2 separate regions of the Homo sapiens genome follow, and region 2 is linked to region 1. The links are contacts of gene promoters, found by promoter capture Hi-C in blood cells and fetal thymus (Javierre and others, 2016). All regions are on one chromosome and are shown on one strand. The core of a region is centred on a gene start or on the middle of the fragment in contact, and the rest is flanking DNA. Distances in the headings are between cores, read along the strand shown. Region 1 holds the start of CYP24A1 (cytochrome P450 family 24 subfamily A member 1). Region 2 overlaps DOK5 (docking protein 5).

The links. The method cuts DNA at HindIII sites, captures the fragments that hold promoters and counts their contacts. A CHiCAGO score of 5 or more calls a contact.
Region 2: a contact is called between a fragment that was not itself captured here and the fragment with the promoter of CYP24A1 in region 1, in 5 of 17 cell types (monocytes, endothelial precursors, M0 macrophages and 2 more). The highest score is 8.7, in monocytes.

What each region holds. Positions count from the first base shown.
Region 1 is chr20:54,170,609-54,177,836 of GRCh38, reverse strand. It overlaps CYP24A1 (cytochrome P450 family 24 subfamily A member 1), which reads left to right and starts at 3,851. Exons shown (of 12, transcript NM_000782.5): 1 at 3,851-4,515; 2 at 4,738-4,928; 3 at 6,167-6,260. The coding sequence starts at 4,258. RefSeq lists an enhancer at 3,628-4,221. The HindIII fragment of the contact is 2,450 bases long and covers 2,584-5,033 here.
Region 2 is chr20:54,642,388-54,649,046 of GRCh38, reverse strand. It overlaps DOK5 (docking protein 5), which reads right to left. Exons shown (of 8, transcript NM_018431.5): 7 at 5,469-5,589. Among named protein-coding and RNA genes, the nearest start is that of DOK5, 170 kb to the right of the region's middle. The HindIII fragment of the contact is 1,294 bases long and covers 1,739-3,032 here.

The sequences.
Region 1 (7,228 bases), core at 2,602-5,101:
AGAGGAAACTAAGGCTGAGAGAGAGACAAGTAAATTGTCCCTGGTTTTTCTAGCTGCTCAGTGGCTGAGCTGGGATTTGAATTCACCAGCATTTCATTGCTAATCTTCCTTTGGCTTTATTCAAGTATACAGTTTCTTGAGTCAGAGACATCTAAATTGCCTCCCTTCTATGGACTTTGAAAAAACCAAGGCATGCAATACAGTAATGCTACAAGGTCATATTTGCTGGGCACTTTACTGTGGTAGGAATTTTATTTGCAGTGTTCTCACAGGAGCCCCGTGAAATTGGCTATTGTTACTACTCCTGTTTCCATGAAGCTTGAACTTTACCGTGAGGTTGGAACCAACACTGTCCATTTAACAAATGCGGCAAGTAAGTCCTCCAGGTTTCCGCAACGGAAAGTGGATCTAGTACTCACGCCCCAGTTTAGGCAAAGTTTGTTGTGTTTGTTTTTTTGAGATGGAGTCTTGCTCTGTCGCCCAGGATGGAGTGCAGTGGCATGATCTCAGCTCACTGCAACCTTCACCTCCCGGGTTCAAGCAATCCTCCTGCCTTAGCCTCCCGTGTAGCTGGGATTACAGGCATCTGCCACAACATCTGGCTAATTTTTGTATTTTTTAGTAGAGATAGGGTTTCACCATGTTGGCCAGGCTGGTCTTGAACTCCTGACCTCAAGTGATCTGCCTGCCTCACCCTTCCAAATTGCTGGAATTACAGGCGTGAGCCATCATGCCAGGCCTAAGCAGTTTTAAGCACAAAACTATATTACTATTGCATATACTTGAAAGTGTTTTGTATTTTCCAGTGCAGAGAAACCAGCCCTTGAACTCCTACAGGCTCCTCCACCCCACCCTCATTATACATGTGTACACAGGTGTGTGAACTCACACACACATGTTGTCATGGGTGGTCCCTTGGTATGAGGGCTGAAGTCTAATTATCCATTCCAGGACTTGGTAAGATTTCCCAGAGCAAAACAGAGGGCCTGAGCCTGTCTCAGTAATGATGGCAGGCATTTATGAGGCATTTCAAGATCTCTCATTAGTAATTCCTGACAAGATCCCTATCCGGATGACTCATAGAGGCTAAGTAGTGAGTGAAGGATGAGGACAGATGAGGAATAGTGAATTCCTGGAAGCGGGATCAAAAATAGTCATTTTGAATTTAATCATACTTCTCAAGGACAGGTATGTATTGGGGTCAATGAAGTTTCAAAGAACTAGTCTTGCTTTCCTCTGCAATCCGGTCTAAAAATTACTGGGGATTTTCTCCACTGAACATGAGAAACCAATATCCCTGAAACAGGAATTTTCTTTTTAGCTATCATGTAACTAATGATTGCCCATATATTTAAATATCTATTTAGAGTATATAAAGCTATATAGCATGAAACTCTTAGAAAAACCTAGCAAGTCTGAAATTATTTCCTCTTCTCCTTGTGCATATCTGCCAAAAGAGAAGGAAAAGAAAGAATAATTGGGAAAATTACTCAATAGTTGAAATAACAATAGACCATTCACTGTGTCCAAGCACCTCACCAGAATCAAGGTACTCAGTAGTGAAAAACATAGACCTTCTGTTTAGAGCTATTTTTTTTTTTTTTTTTTTGACAGAGTCTTACTCTGTCGCCCAGGCTGGAGTGCAGTGGGGCGATCTCGGCTCACTGTAACCTCCGCCTCCCGAGTTCAAGCGATTCTCCTGCCTCAGCCTCCTGAGTAGCTGGGATTACAGGCATGCACCACCACACCCGGCTAATTTTTGTATTTTTGGTAGAGATGGGCTTTCACCATGTTGGCCAGGCTGGTCTCGAACTCCCAACCTCAGGTGATCCGCCCACCTCGGCCTCCCAAAGTGCTGGGATTACAGGCGTGAGCCACTACACTCAGCCAGAGCTATTCTTTTTCACCACCGTCAGCACATAAAACGTTTGCCTCACACTGCCCCACACATACTGACATGGTAGGCATTCTGATCCCCCCCACTTTCCTCTTGGTGATAATTCTCATTTAAGAAATACTTCCAATATTCTGAGACACTCTGGTTTAAGAAAAAGTGACATAACATAGCATGATGTATATGGGTGTACTATTTAGGGCCCAGCCTAGAATCAGAAAATATTGGGTCTGAATCCCACCTGAGCCAATGGTAACGTCTGTGACATTGGGCAAATTACTTAGCTCTGTAAGAGTCAAGGGTTTTTTTGTTTGTCTTTGATTTTTTTTTGTTTTTTATTTTATTTCATTTTATTGACATTGGGCTGAGATGAGAACTAAACGGAAAAAATGATGTAAAATGTCTAGCTCAGTGCCTGACTTATCATAAGCCCTAGAAAGCTTTCATGAGAATATTATATAACATATGGAATCTACATACTGTATGCAATCTATACTATATTATGTATATTTAGTGTGTATTGCATATAACATAATCTATAGTGTATGCTGTAACATATATACCATACAATGTATATATAAATATGTACAAGATTCATAAAGTTTAGTATATATCAATAGCTATTATTTTTATTAACATAAACAGTCATTAGCCCCTCCAGACAAATCAGAAATGATGGTGTTAAAGCTTAAGTTGGACTGCAAAAGATTTTTAAGAAACAAACTAGAGGCTTACAAAAGAATTTACCAGGGAAGGATTTGCCAACACTTGGGGCAAAAATGACTGAGACACGTAATTGAAAAGCAGGGCGAGGAAACAGAATGTCCCTCCCCTCCTCCCTGGCTGGTGGTAGTTTTGTATTGGATCAGGTTGAAAGGATTCGAGCCACTTTAAAACAATCAACAAAAATCTCCAACTTCCGTTCCTGAATTAGCAAAGCGAGTTCTACTCTTGCCAGCCGCGGTAACTCTAGAAATTGTGTATGTTTGTCACTGGACCTGCCTAGGACGCACCTTGGGGGAGAGGGGGAGTACTGGGGGCGGTGGTTTCAAGCTCTGTGTGCCCCTCCTTTGCACAAGGTAGTCGGTGTAGAAGAACAGAGGCGGGCAGTGGACATAGGGGAGGTGGCCCAGCCTGAATTCAAGCATCGTTGGTGCAAGCCACGCTCTCAAGGCGCATTTCCTAACTTCCTAAAGAAGTAACAACAGCAACTAACTTTTATTGACTGTTGACTATAGACAAGGCTTCGTTGTTGCCGCTTTACGTGCATTAATTCATTTAATCTGCAAAACAACCAAACATGAAACAGCAGGAAGGAAATTCTACAAACTCCCCTTCTTGCTCAAGTTAAGAAAGTCTCCTCTTCTGGTGCATTTCAGTAAGACTCAAATCCTCCCCACCCTGGGAGGCGCAGAAAGCCAAACTTCCTCCAAAAAAAAAAAGGCAAAAAAAAAAAAAAAATCACTTCAGTCCAGGCTGGGGGTATCTGGCTCCCCGGGAGGCGCCCGGGCTCCCCGGGGCCCTGGCAGACGCCGGCAGCTTTTCTGGGCCCGCACTCGGGGACCTCGCCCGCCCGGCATCGCGATTGTGCAAGCGCCGGGCGGCAACCACGGCCGCCGCTGCCGGCTCCTGCCCGCCGGGGGAGGGCGGGGAGGCGCGTTCGAAGCACACCCGGTGAACTCCGGGCTTCGCATGACTTCCTGGGGGTTATCTCCGGGGTGGAGTCTGCCGCCCCCACCCCACCTCCCGCGCCCAGCGAACATAGCCCCGGTCACCCCAGGCCCGGACGCCCTCGCTCACCTCGCTGACTCCATCCTCCTTCCACCCCCCCTCCCCTGGGTCCCGCGTCCCTCGGAGTCTGGCCAGCCGGGGGCCACTCCGCCCTCCTCTGCGTGCTCATTGGCCACCCAGGGCATGCTCTGTCTCCATAAATGCATGGTCCCTGGGCATAGGAACATGGAGAGGGACAGGAGGAAACGCAGCGCCAGCAGCATCTCATCTACCCTCCTTGACACCTCCCCGTGGCTCCAGCCAGACCCTAGAGGTCAGCCTTGCGGACCAACAGGAGGACTCCCAGCTTTCCCTTTTCAAGAGGTCCCCAGACACCGGCCACCCTCTTCCAGCCCCTGCGGCCAGTGCAAGGAGGCACCAATGCTCTGAGGCTGTCGCGTGGTGCAGCGTCGAGCATCCTCGCCGAGGTCCTTTCTGCTGCCTGTCCCGCCTCACCCCGCTCCATCACACCAGCTGGCCCTCTTTGCTTCCTTTTCCCAGAATCGTTAAGCCCCGACTCCCACTAGCACCTCGTACCAACCTCGCCCCACCCCATCCTCCTGCCTTCCCGCGCTCCGGTGTCCCCCGCTGCCATGAGCTCCCCCATCAGCAAGAGCCGCTCGCTTGCCGCCTTCCTGCAGCAGCTGCGCAGTCCGAGGCAGCCCCCGAGACTGGTGACATCTACGGCGTACACGTCCCCTCAGCCGCGAGAGGTGCCAGTCTGCCCGCTGACAGCTGGTGGCGAGACTCAGAACGCGGCCGCCCTGCCGGGCCCCACCAGCTGGCCACTGCTGGGCAGCCTGCTGCAGATTCTCTGGAAAGGGGGTCTCAAGAAACAGCACGACACCCTGGTAAACCCCTTTTCGCGCCCCTGACTCTCTCCTCCCTCTTCCGCCCTCCCAGTGGCGCTCCAAACCCTCCCCGACATGCGCGCCTCGGGCGCATGGTGCGCTTCGGCGTCTGGGCAGGGAGGGTCCCCGGTCCCCTAGGAGGAAGGAGGCGGGAGGAGGGAAAGCGCTTCGGGCACGGCGGAGGATGCGCGCTGACACCGCGCTGTGCCCGGCCGGCTGCAGGTGGAGTACCACAAGAAGTATGGCAAGATTTTCCGCATGAAGTTGGGTTCCTTTGAGTCGGTGCACCTGGGCTCGCCATGCCTGCTGGAAGCGCTGTACCGCACCGAGAGCGCGTACCCGCAGCGGCTGGAGATCAAACCGTGGAAGGCCTATCGCGACTACCGCAAAGAAGGCTACGGGCTGCTGATCCTGTGAGTCCAATCCGAGGGACCTGGGCATGCGGCCAGACCTGATGAGCCTGACGGCGCCTGGAAATTGTGAAGAGGCGGAGTTAGAGTTCCCTGGGGTTGGAAGCTTCTTACGTAGGGCGGATACCAAAGCCCCTCTCCCGTGCCATCGCAACCCTGAGCTCTTGTACAGATTAGAGTCGGTCCACGGAAAAGCCGTGCTGTGCACCCAGCACCTGCGTTCTCTCTGGCAACAGGGCAGGGCCACACCCTCCCATCAAAGAAACGCCAAAACAGGGTTGTACCAACTGTGGTGTTCAGACTCTTGGGCAGGATGAGGTTCTGAAGTCAGCGTACCAGGCAAACATCTTATACAAACAAAATTATCCCTTAAAACTCCCTGAAACACCTTGTAAGCTCAAAAGCGAGGAGTTAGCCTCTTTGGCTTTTTACAGTGACATTTTCTGCAGAGGATTGGGGGACATGCCTTATTTCTACTTGTAAAGGTGGAATAAGGAGGGATATCAAAGTTGTGTTTTAGGTCGACAAATGCTACTATGGGATGTGATTCTTCTGCTTTTTAGTTGTTAGCATTTAACAAGTTAGCACCTTTATTTACCCCCAAACTGTAATGCCTAATCGTTATATTTTCCAGGATATAATGACTGGAATTAAAAACCCTATTAATTCACGGTGCTTCACAGGCTGTATGGTCTGCTATGGGGCAGGTGCCTACAAGTGCACGATCGCAAAAGGCTTTTTATTACTCCAGTGACTCTCTGACTGTATGTTATTATTTGGAGGCGATGGCAAAATTCTAAATCTGAGATATTTTGTAAATATGAAGCCCACACCAATGAGTTGAAAGAAGACAAGATTCTTCCCTCAAACAGATCTGAGTTGCTGGTGATGGGGTGTTCACATGCCCCCTTTTACCGCTAGGAATTGTCCCCAGGCCTCCCAGCCCCACTCCCTGCAAGGACACCTCAAAATCCCTGAACCCAAATTATCTGGACTTCAACTTTTTGGTGCAATCTTTGACTAGGAGGAAAGGTGCTTTTTCATCCTATTGTCAAACTATTGTCAAAAGATGATCACTATTTTATCCCAAATATTCTGATGCTAATATTCTCTGGCTATTTCTTGGCATGATTCTCAGTGTTTGTTTGATTTTATGGTTCCTGAAGTTGCAGCTGGAGTATTTCTGCATCTCCTTCTTTTCTTTTCAGTGTGCTCTAAATGTATTCCTGCTTCTCTCACAGGGAAGGGGAAGACTGGCAGCGGGTCCGGAGTGCCTTTCAAAAGAAACTAATGAAACCAGGGGAAGTGATGAAGCTGGACAACAAAATCAATGAGGTCTGCAGGCTGGGGCCAGCTTTCCTGGGGCTCGTGGGGACATAGGGATATTGGTGGAGCTTCAAGTCACAGCTACAAAGAACAAAGGAAAAAAGAATGCAATTCGGGTGATTCAAAGTGGGGGTCTTCTCTTTCTCTCCATTCCTTCCTACAGCCTCCTCCCCACCAAACCCTTATTTCTCCCTCCTCCACCCTCTTTTAAAGTCATATCACAATGAGGGAGCAATGGAGAGTGTGGACTTTGGTATTCTACAGCCCTGGATTTGAACCCCAGCTTTCCACTCCCTGGCTATGAGACCTGGCTATATACCACTTACCTTCCCTAAGCCTCAGTTTCCCCATCTACAAAATGGGAGTAACAGTTCCCACCCCACGGGTTTGCTGTGAGAATTAAATGAGATAACATTGTAAAGTTCTTAAGTAGTGATATTTGAGCTGGGTTTTGCAGGAGGAGTCTGAAAGCAGAGAAAGTGGGGGAAGGCATTAAGGCAGACAGAGTAGCCTTCTGAAAACAGGGAGGCATGAAATGACGTGGTGTGTTCAGAGAATCGGTCATTTAGTGTAGCTGATGTGAGGCTTTCTCTGAAATGATACTGGATAGGTCTTAACAATATTTTTGTATTATACTAAGGTATTTGGACATTATCCCTTAGCCAGCACGGAGTCAAAGGGAGTTTTAAGCATAAAGTAATCTCTTTTTACTTCTGTTCACTTTGGATGTTTATTTTGAACTGGATGCGTCCCCAGATGGGATCATATAGGTGAAGGATTGCAAACTCAGAAGCTTCCAGGGCTCACATGACTAATATAAAATAATAAGGCAGACCCAGTAAAAATTTCAGGAAACGTGATAGTGCATGCCCCTCCCAGGAGGGACAGCAGCCCCAGTTCCAGCAAACGAATGCCATGTCAGAATGCAGACCTCATGTCACCAAGTCTCATAATTATTATTTACATTTTTAAACTAG
Region 2 (6,659 bases), core at 1,136-3,635, 470 kb before region 1:
TTATCTTAGGTCCGATCTATGATATAGGTGCCTAGTTTTTCTTGTTTTTGTTTTGAAACAGTGATGCTATCTTCCAAGGCAATTCCCACAGAAGAGTTCGGAAAACACTGGAGCAATGAAGCACCTTGGCCTAAGGGTAAAGATTGCTGAGATGATAACTTTGAGAAGGAGGTGAGAGAGTTAGAGGAACATTGTACTGAGGCCAGACACTCCGGTGCTCATGTGCAACGGCCTTGGGGCTAGTCTCCCACTTCCTCTCCTGTTCTCTTGCAATCCCTTGAATGAAAATATCGATTAAATCTGACACTGCCATGCTGAGGACCCTCTAATGCTTCCCCTCACACTTAGAATAAGCAAGTCTTGATTACCTGTATTCACCACCCCGGCTGTCTCTTTATGTCCCTTAGGCACCAGCCACACTGGCTCCTTCCTGATCTTTGAATGCCCGCAGCTCATTTCTGACTCAGGGCCTTTGCATTTGCTGACCTCTCTATGGAGAATGCCTTCCCCTGGCTCTCGGTATGGCTGCCTCTTTTAGACTTAAGGTCTTGGGGTGTTGCAGGGGCTTCCACTGACTACCCCATCTCAAGAAGTCCCTTTGTCAGCATCTTCTCAAAACCAACAGCTCTGCCTCACTTTCTTTATCATAAAAACTTTCTTTTCCACTGTTCCATATACCAAATCTGAAATTAACTATGTCTGCTTGATTATGGATTGTGACTCTCCATTAGATTATAAGCTCCGAGAGGGAAGGAATATCCCTGCCTAGGAGTCCCAGGTATGTCTGTCATCTAGCACAGCGCTTGGCCTAAACTAGATGCTCAATAAACGTTTACTGAGTAAACAAAGAATGGATGGATGGAAGAATGAGAGAGAAAAACCTTAAAATCTTTGTTACTTACTAGATAGGTAGTCTTGGACCCATTAATAACCCTTCAAATTCTCAGTTTCCTAACAGCAAATGAGAATAAAATACCCTTTCGGGCAGCTGTTTTGGGATCTAAATGAGATCATGTATGTTAGGTCCCAGCGGAAAGCTGGTACACAGTAGGTCCTCAGAAAGAGTAGCTTTTAGAAAGACCCCATTGAATATGGCTTGTCTCCCTCGTAATGATGAAATCTGAGATTTCAGCACTGCACTGGTGGCACGTGAATGCTTATTCATATAACAAGAAGGAAAAGAAGTTTCATGTCCAAATAGATGTGCAGAGCTTTGGTTTAAACAAGTTTAATCAGGTTTTTCATTGCAGGGCATCTCAGAGCCCTGAAATTATTGATTTGTTTTCTGACTCTCCATGAGAACTTAACATGTAGCATTTCCCCCAGACGCGTTTGACCACAGTAACCTTTCTTAGGGGAAAGGTGCTGTCTACCAGAGTTAGCTTTCCAAGGAACATAATTTGGGAAATGCTACTGATGTAACTGCTGTTATTTTATCCAATGCATTCCTAAAAGAATCCAGTGAATAGTATTCAACATAAACTTGTTGATTGCTTCTGTAAGTTTCTTCCATAGTTTTTTTGTTTTTTTTTTTTTTAACTGAGACAGAGTTTCACTCTTGTTGCCCAGGCAGGAGTGCAGTGGCATGATCATGGCTCACTGCAACCTCTGCCTCCTGGGTTCAAGCGATTCTCCCACCTCAGCTTTCCGAGTAGCTGGAATTACAGGCGCCCGCCACCATGCCCAGCTAATTTTTGTATTTTTAGTAGAGGTGGGGTTTCACCATGTTGGCCAAGCTTGTCTTGAACTCGAGATCTCAGGAGATCCACCCAACTCGGCCTCCCAAAGTGCTGTGATTACAGGTGTGAGCCACCACGCCCAGACAGTTTTCATTATAAACCTACTTCCAATGTTGATTTTGTATCTGCATAATCATAGAAGAGAATTTCTATGAAAATTTTAAAACGACGTGGGAGAAGCAGTGAAGGTAGATTAGGTATGTCTTGTGTGGCACGTGTCAAAACCAGCCACCTCCCTTTCCCCACCAAAAACTGTAGTAAAATGATAATTCCCAAATCAACCAGCAGGGGGCTCTCGAAGACTACATTTGAAGAAAATGACCATTATTCTCAAACCAATTTGTTAAATTCCTCCTTAAGGGTCTGTATGATTTCCAACCTTAACCTCCAGATTTGCCAGAAAAAAAAAAAAAAAGCCTGAAATTCATCAATGTAGGTGAATTGGCCAGAGGAATTACAACCCATAATCATCAGCAAAACAAGAAGAAATTAAAGGCTCTGTAACTTCATCATATGGCACACCCCAGGCCCCCAAGTCATTAACTTTTCCCAATCCTATTTCCTTTTTCTAAGGGGTATGAAAAGTAGGGGAGAGGGAAGGTAGGTAGTATAGGTAGAAGAATAAAACTTTTTTTTTAAATGTACTTGTTTAAATAGCCACTTTTGATAAGCAAGATAATTTTAGGTACTCTGTGAACATCTTTTAAATCTTCAATACTTATTATTTATTTTATTGTCTATTAAAAAGCATAACTAGCTGGGTGCAGTGGCTGATATCTATAATTCCAGCACTTTGGGAGGCCGAGGCAGGAGGACTACTTGAGCTCAGAAGTTTGAGACCAGTCTGGGCAACATAGTAAGACACCCTCTCTACTAAAAATAATAAATTAGCTGGGCTTGGTGGCACACACCTGTAGTCCCAGCTATTTGGTAGGCTAAGGCAGGAGGATCACTGGTGCCCAGGAGGTTGAGACTGCAGTGAGCCATGATCGCACCACTGCACTCCAGCCTAGGCGAAGAGCCAGACCCTGTCTCAAAAAAAAAAAAAAAAAAAAAAAACAGTATAACCAGTGGATATAACAGTATTAAGGTAGTAAAATATGCTTTTTTTAAAGAAGTATATTAAAATAGAAGAGAGTAAAATCGAGTAACATTCTGGTATGTATATGACAAAAATTGTGATGATATAACTCAAATATTGCAAACATTTTTGAAGTTTAAGTGAGAATCAGTGGCATTGTGACAACCCAATCTAACTCACTCTCTCTGCAGAGAAATCTTGGAAGGTAAGCTTATTTGTCAATTATTAATTCAGTCGTTTGCTCAGCTGCTCACAGAGGCACTCAGTATCTTTTTTTTTTTTTTTTTTTTTTTTTTTTTTTGCAGCATCTGCTATGTGCCATGCTCTCTGCTAGTGAACAGAGCACAGAGTCATGAAAACTAAAATGTAAATACCCCCAGTGCTTTCTTAACATTATGCATTCTTTCGACAAATCCTGATGGAAGGCATACAAGGTGCCGGGGGATAAAATGATAAAGATAGAAGGAGGCACAGCTCTCCTGCCCTCCTGTACATTATTGCTTCCTGGGAGAGCTGACCATGAGTCAATTGGCCACATAAATATGAAATGAAAACCGGCCATCATCTGCATCTTATGAGTGCACGTCATCAGAGATGTCCACTCCAGTTACAAGAAAGTCCTGAGGGCTTTCTTGGAGCCTGAGGGGCGCTGGAGGTGAGACCTGGAGGTGAGCAGGAGTTAACTAGGATGAGGGACGGGCGCAGCATACAGGAAAAGCTGCCTGGGGGAGAAAGGACCAACAGCAAAGACTGAGAAAAAAATGCTGTTGTGACCAGGGTTCAGAGCGGGCATGGAGGACTGAGGGTTCAGAGCGGGCATGGAGGACTGAGGGTTCAGAGCGGGCATGGAGGACTGAGGGTTCAGAGCGGGCATGGAGGACTGAGGGTTCAGAGCGGGCATGGAGGACTGAGGGTTCAGAGCGGGCATGGAGGACTGAGGGTTCAGAGCGGGCATGGAGGACTGAGGGTTCAGAGCGAGCATGGAGGACTAAGGCCATAGTCTTCCATGGTCATTCATTCATTCTTGCATTCAATTATTCAGCAAATTTCTGCACGTAAACTACGTGTAGTCCAGTGCACTCTATTTCCAGTTTGGTGGTCTTGTACCTCATCATTAAAGAGTTTTTTTGCGCGGAACTTGCAGTGAGCCGAGATCGCGCCACTGCAGTCCAGCCTGGGCGACAGAGCGAGACTCTGTCTCAAAAAAAAAAAAAAAAAAAAAAAAAAAAGAGTTTTTTTACAAGTATCCCCCACAAAGGCGCATAACATAATAAGCTATTCTTATGTACTATGAAATGAAAAACAAAACAAAACAAATATGTTTGAAAGGATAGGTTTAAATAGAATTTTTTTTTTTTGAGATGGAGTTTTGCTCTTGTTGCCCAGGCTGGAGTGCAATGGTGCAATTCTGGCTCACTGCAACCACCGCCTCCCAGGTTCAGGTGATTCCCCTGACTCAGCTGGGATTACAGGCACATGCCACCACGCCCAGCTAAATTTTGTTTTTTTTTTTTTTTTTTTGAGACGGAGTCTCTCTCTGTCACCCAGGCTGGAGTGCAGTGGCGCTATCTCGGCTCACTGCAAGCTCCGCCTCCCGGGTTCACGCCATTCTCCTGCCTCAGCCTCCCGCGTAGCTGGGACTACAGGCGCCCGCCACCACGCCCGGCTAATTTTTTTGTGTTTTTTAGTAGAGACGGGGTTTCACTGTGTTAGCCAGGATGGTCTCGATCTCCTGACCTCATGATCCGCCCGCCTCGGCCTCCCAAAGTGCTGGGATTACAGGCGTGAGCCACTGCGCCCGGCCTTGTATTTTTTTTAGTAAAGACAGGGTTTCACCATGTTGGCCAGGCTGGCCTTCAACTCCTGACTTCAGGTGATCTGACCGCCTTGGCCTCCCAAAGTGCTGATATTACAGGCGTGAGCCACCACGCCTGGCCATTTTAAGCAGATTTTTTCATTGTTCATGTTGTCCACACTATGGGCTGTTCTGCATCATGCTTCAGAGACCACTTCTCTAGAAGAAGAGCTTACTAGGATTTGCCTAAAGTCATTCAGCAAACCTGAAGCCATGGCTTCTGGCCTCAGTCCAGGGCCCCATCCACCAAAACATTGGCTCCTAGACCTGAGCTCTCGGGAGAATCACCTGGAGGACTTGTTCAAATACAGGTGGCCTGGCCCCACCCTCAGAGCTCCTGATTCAGTAGGTCTGGGGAAGGGCATGGAAATTTGCATTTCTAGCAAGACTTCAAGTAATGCTGATGCTGTGATTCATCAGTCCACTACATCATTTCTTGTAGCCTGGTCCCTGGCCCCTCGCCCAGACCCTGTGTACGGTCTGTTAAAAGTGCAGATTGCTCAGCCACATCCTATGCCTTAAGATCTAGAGTCTCTGGGGATGAAACCCAAGAATCTTCATTTTAAGTGACTTCCCCCCGGACACTGTGATAGATACAAATATCTCTAGAGCCATACAGATATTTGGCTCTACAAAGATTAAGTGCCTCGTGTGTGAGGCCTTGATGGGGGTCCTACCTTTGGAGGAAGGGCACTAACCAGCTGGCATGCAGCAGCTGCGAGTTGAGCTGAGCCCCCTCCCCAGTACTCCCAGGCCTGGCCCACACCCTGGACACAGGTAGCCCCACGCTTACCTTGCAAGCGGTAGAGCTGTCCCGTGCTGTGCTGCCGTGTGATGTGCTGCCAGTAGGCGCTGCGAGGCAGGGGCACCATGGTGCTCAGCGAGGCGGCCCGCTCACTCATCTTCATCTGGAGCTGCAGCCAAAGGGAAGAAAGTTGTGCGTCAGCAACACTGGGGCCGAAAGTGGCCTGACTGAGGAAACAGGAGAGCATGGAGTAAAAGAACCACAGAGCTGGCCAGGCTGCAAATCAATGAACATCGATTGAAGGTGGTGGGCATGGTGGCCAGCTACTGTTTTTGCTTACTTAGCACCATCCATTCTTTACCCTGCTGGCAACAGTGCCTTGATGACGTTCCTTTGGGGAACTTCCCTCCAACCCAGCTAAGTCCCTCTAGTCCCGGTGGGGCTGATTCCCCCATTCACTTTAGGGTTGGGCTGGTGACCCATGCCAGACCACTCCGAAATAATTTACTGAGACATTGTTAGCATTTTTGTGGAAGAGAGAATCAGCAGAAGTAAGCTAAAGATTTATGACTGTTTTGTTCATTGATCTATCCCCAGAGTGCAGAATATTGCCTTGCATGTAATAGATATACAAGTAACATGTGTTGAATGATTTCTCGTGGAGTTGTTAAGAGGCTGGAGATGGGACTGGAGCCTATCTTGGAACTACAAAGGGACCACGTGACAGTGAGTAGACACCATTCAGAAGAAGACAGCCAAGAAAAGCAGAGAGATCTTCACACACTCCACTGAGACCTTGGATCCCACTGAATCCAGAGGCTGGCCCCAGACTTTTCAATTGTATTAGCCATTTCATTCTTTTCAGTTTGGGGTTTTTCTGTTTTGTTTTGTTTTTGTTTTTTTTCAGATGGAGTCTTGCTCTGTCAGCAAGGCTGGAGTGTGGTAGCACGATCACAGCTCACTGCAACCTCCGCCTCTGGGCTCAAGCAATTCTCCTGCCTCAGCCTCCTGAGTAGCTGGAAGTACAGGTACATGCCACCACGCCCGGCTAATTTTTCTTTTTTTTTTTTTTTTTTTGTATTTTTAGTAGAGATGGGGTTTCTCCATGTTGGCCAGGCTGATTTCGAACTCCTGACCTCAGGTGATCCACCCACCTCGGCCTCCCAGAATGTTAGGATTACAGGTGTCAGCCACCACACCCAGCCTAATTCTTGTCAGTTTAAACTGACTTGTGTTGGG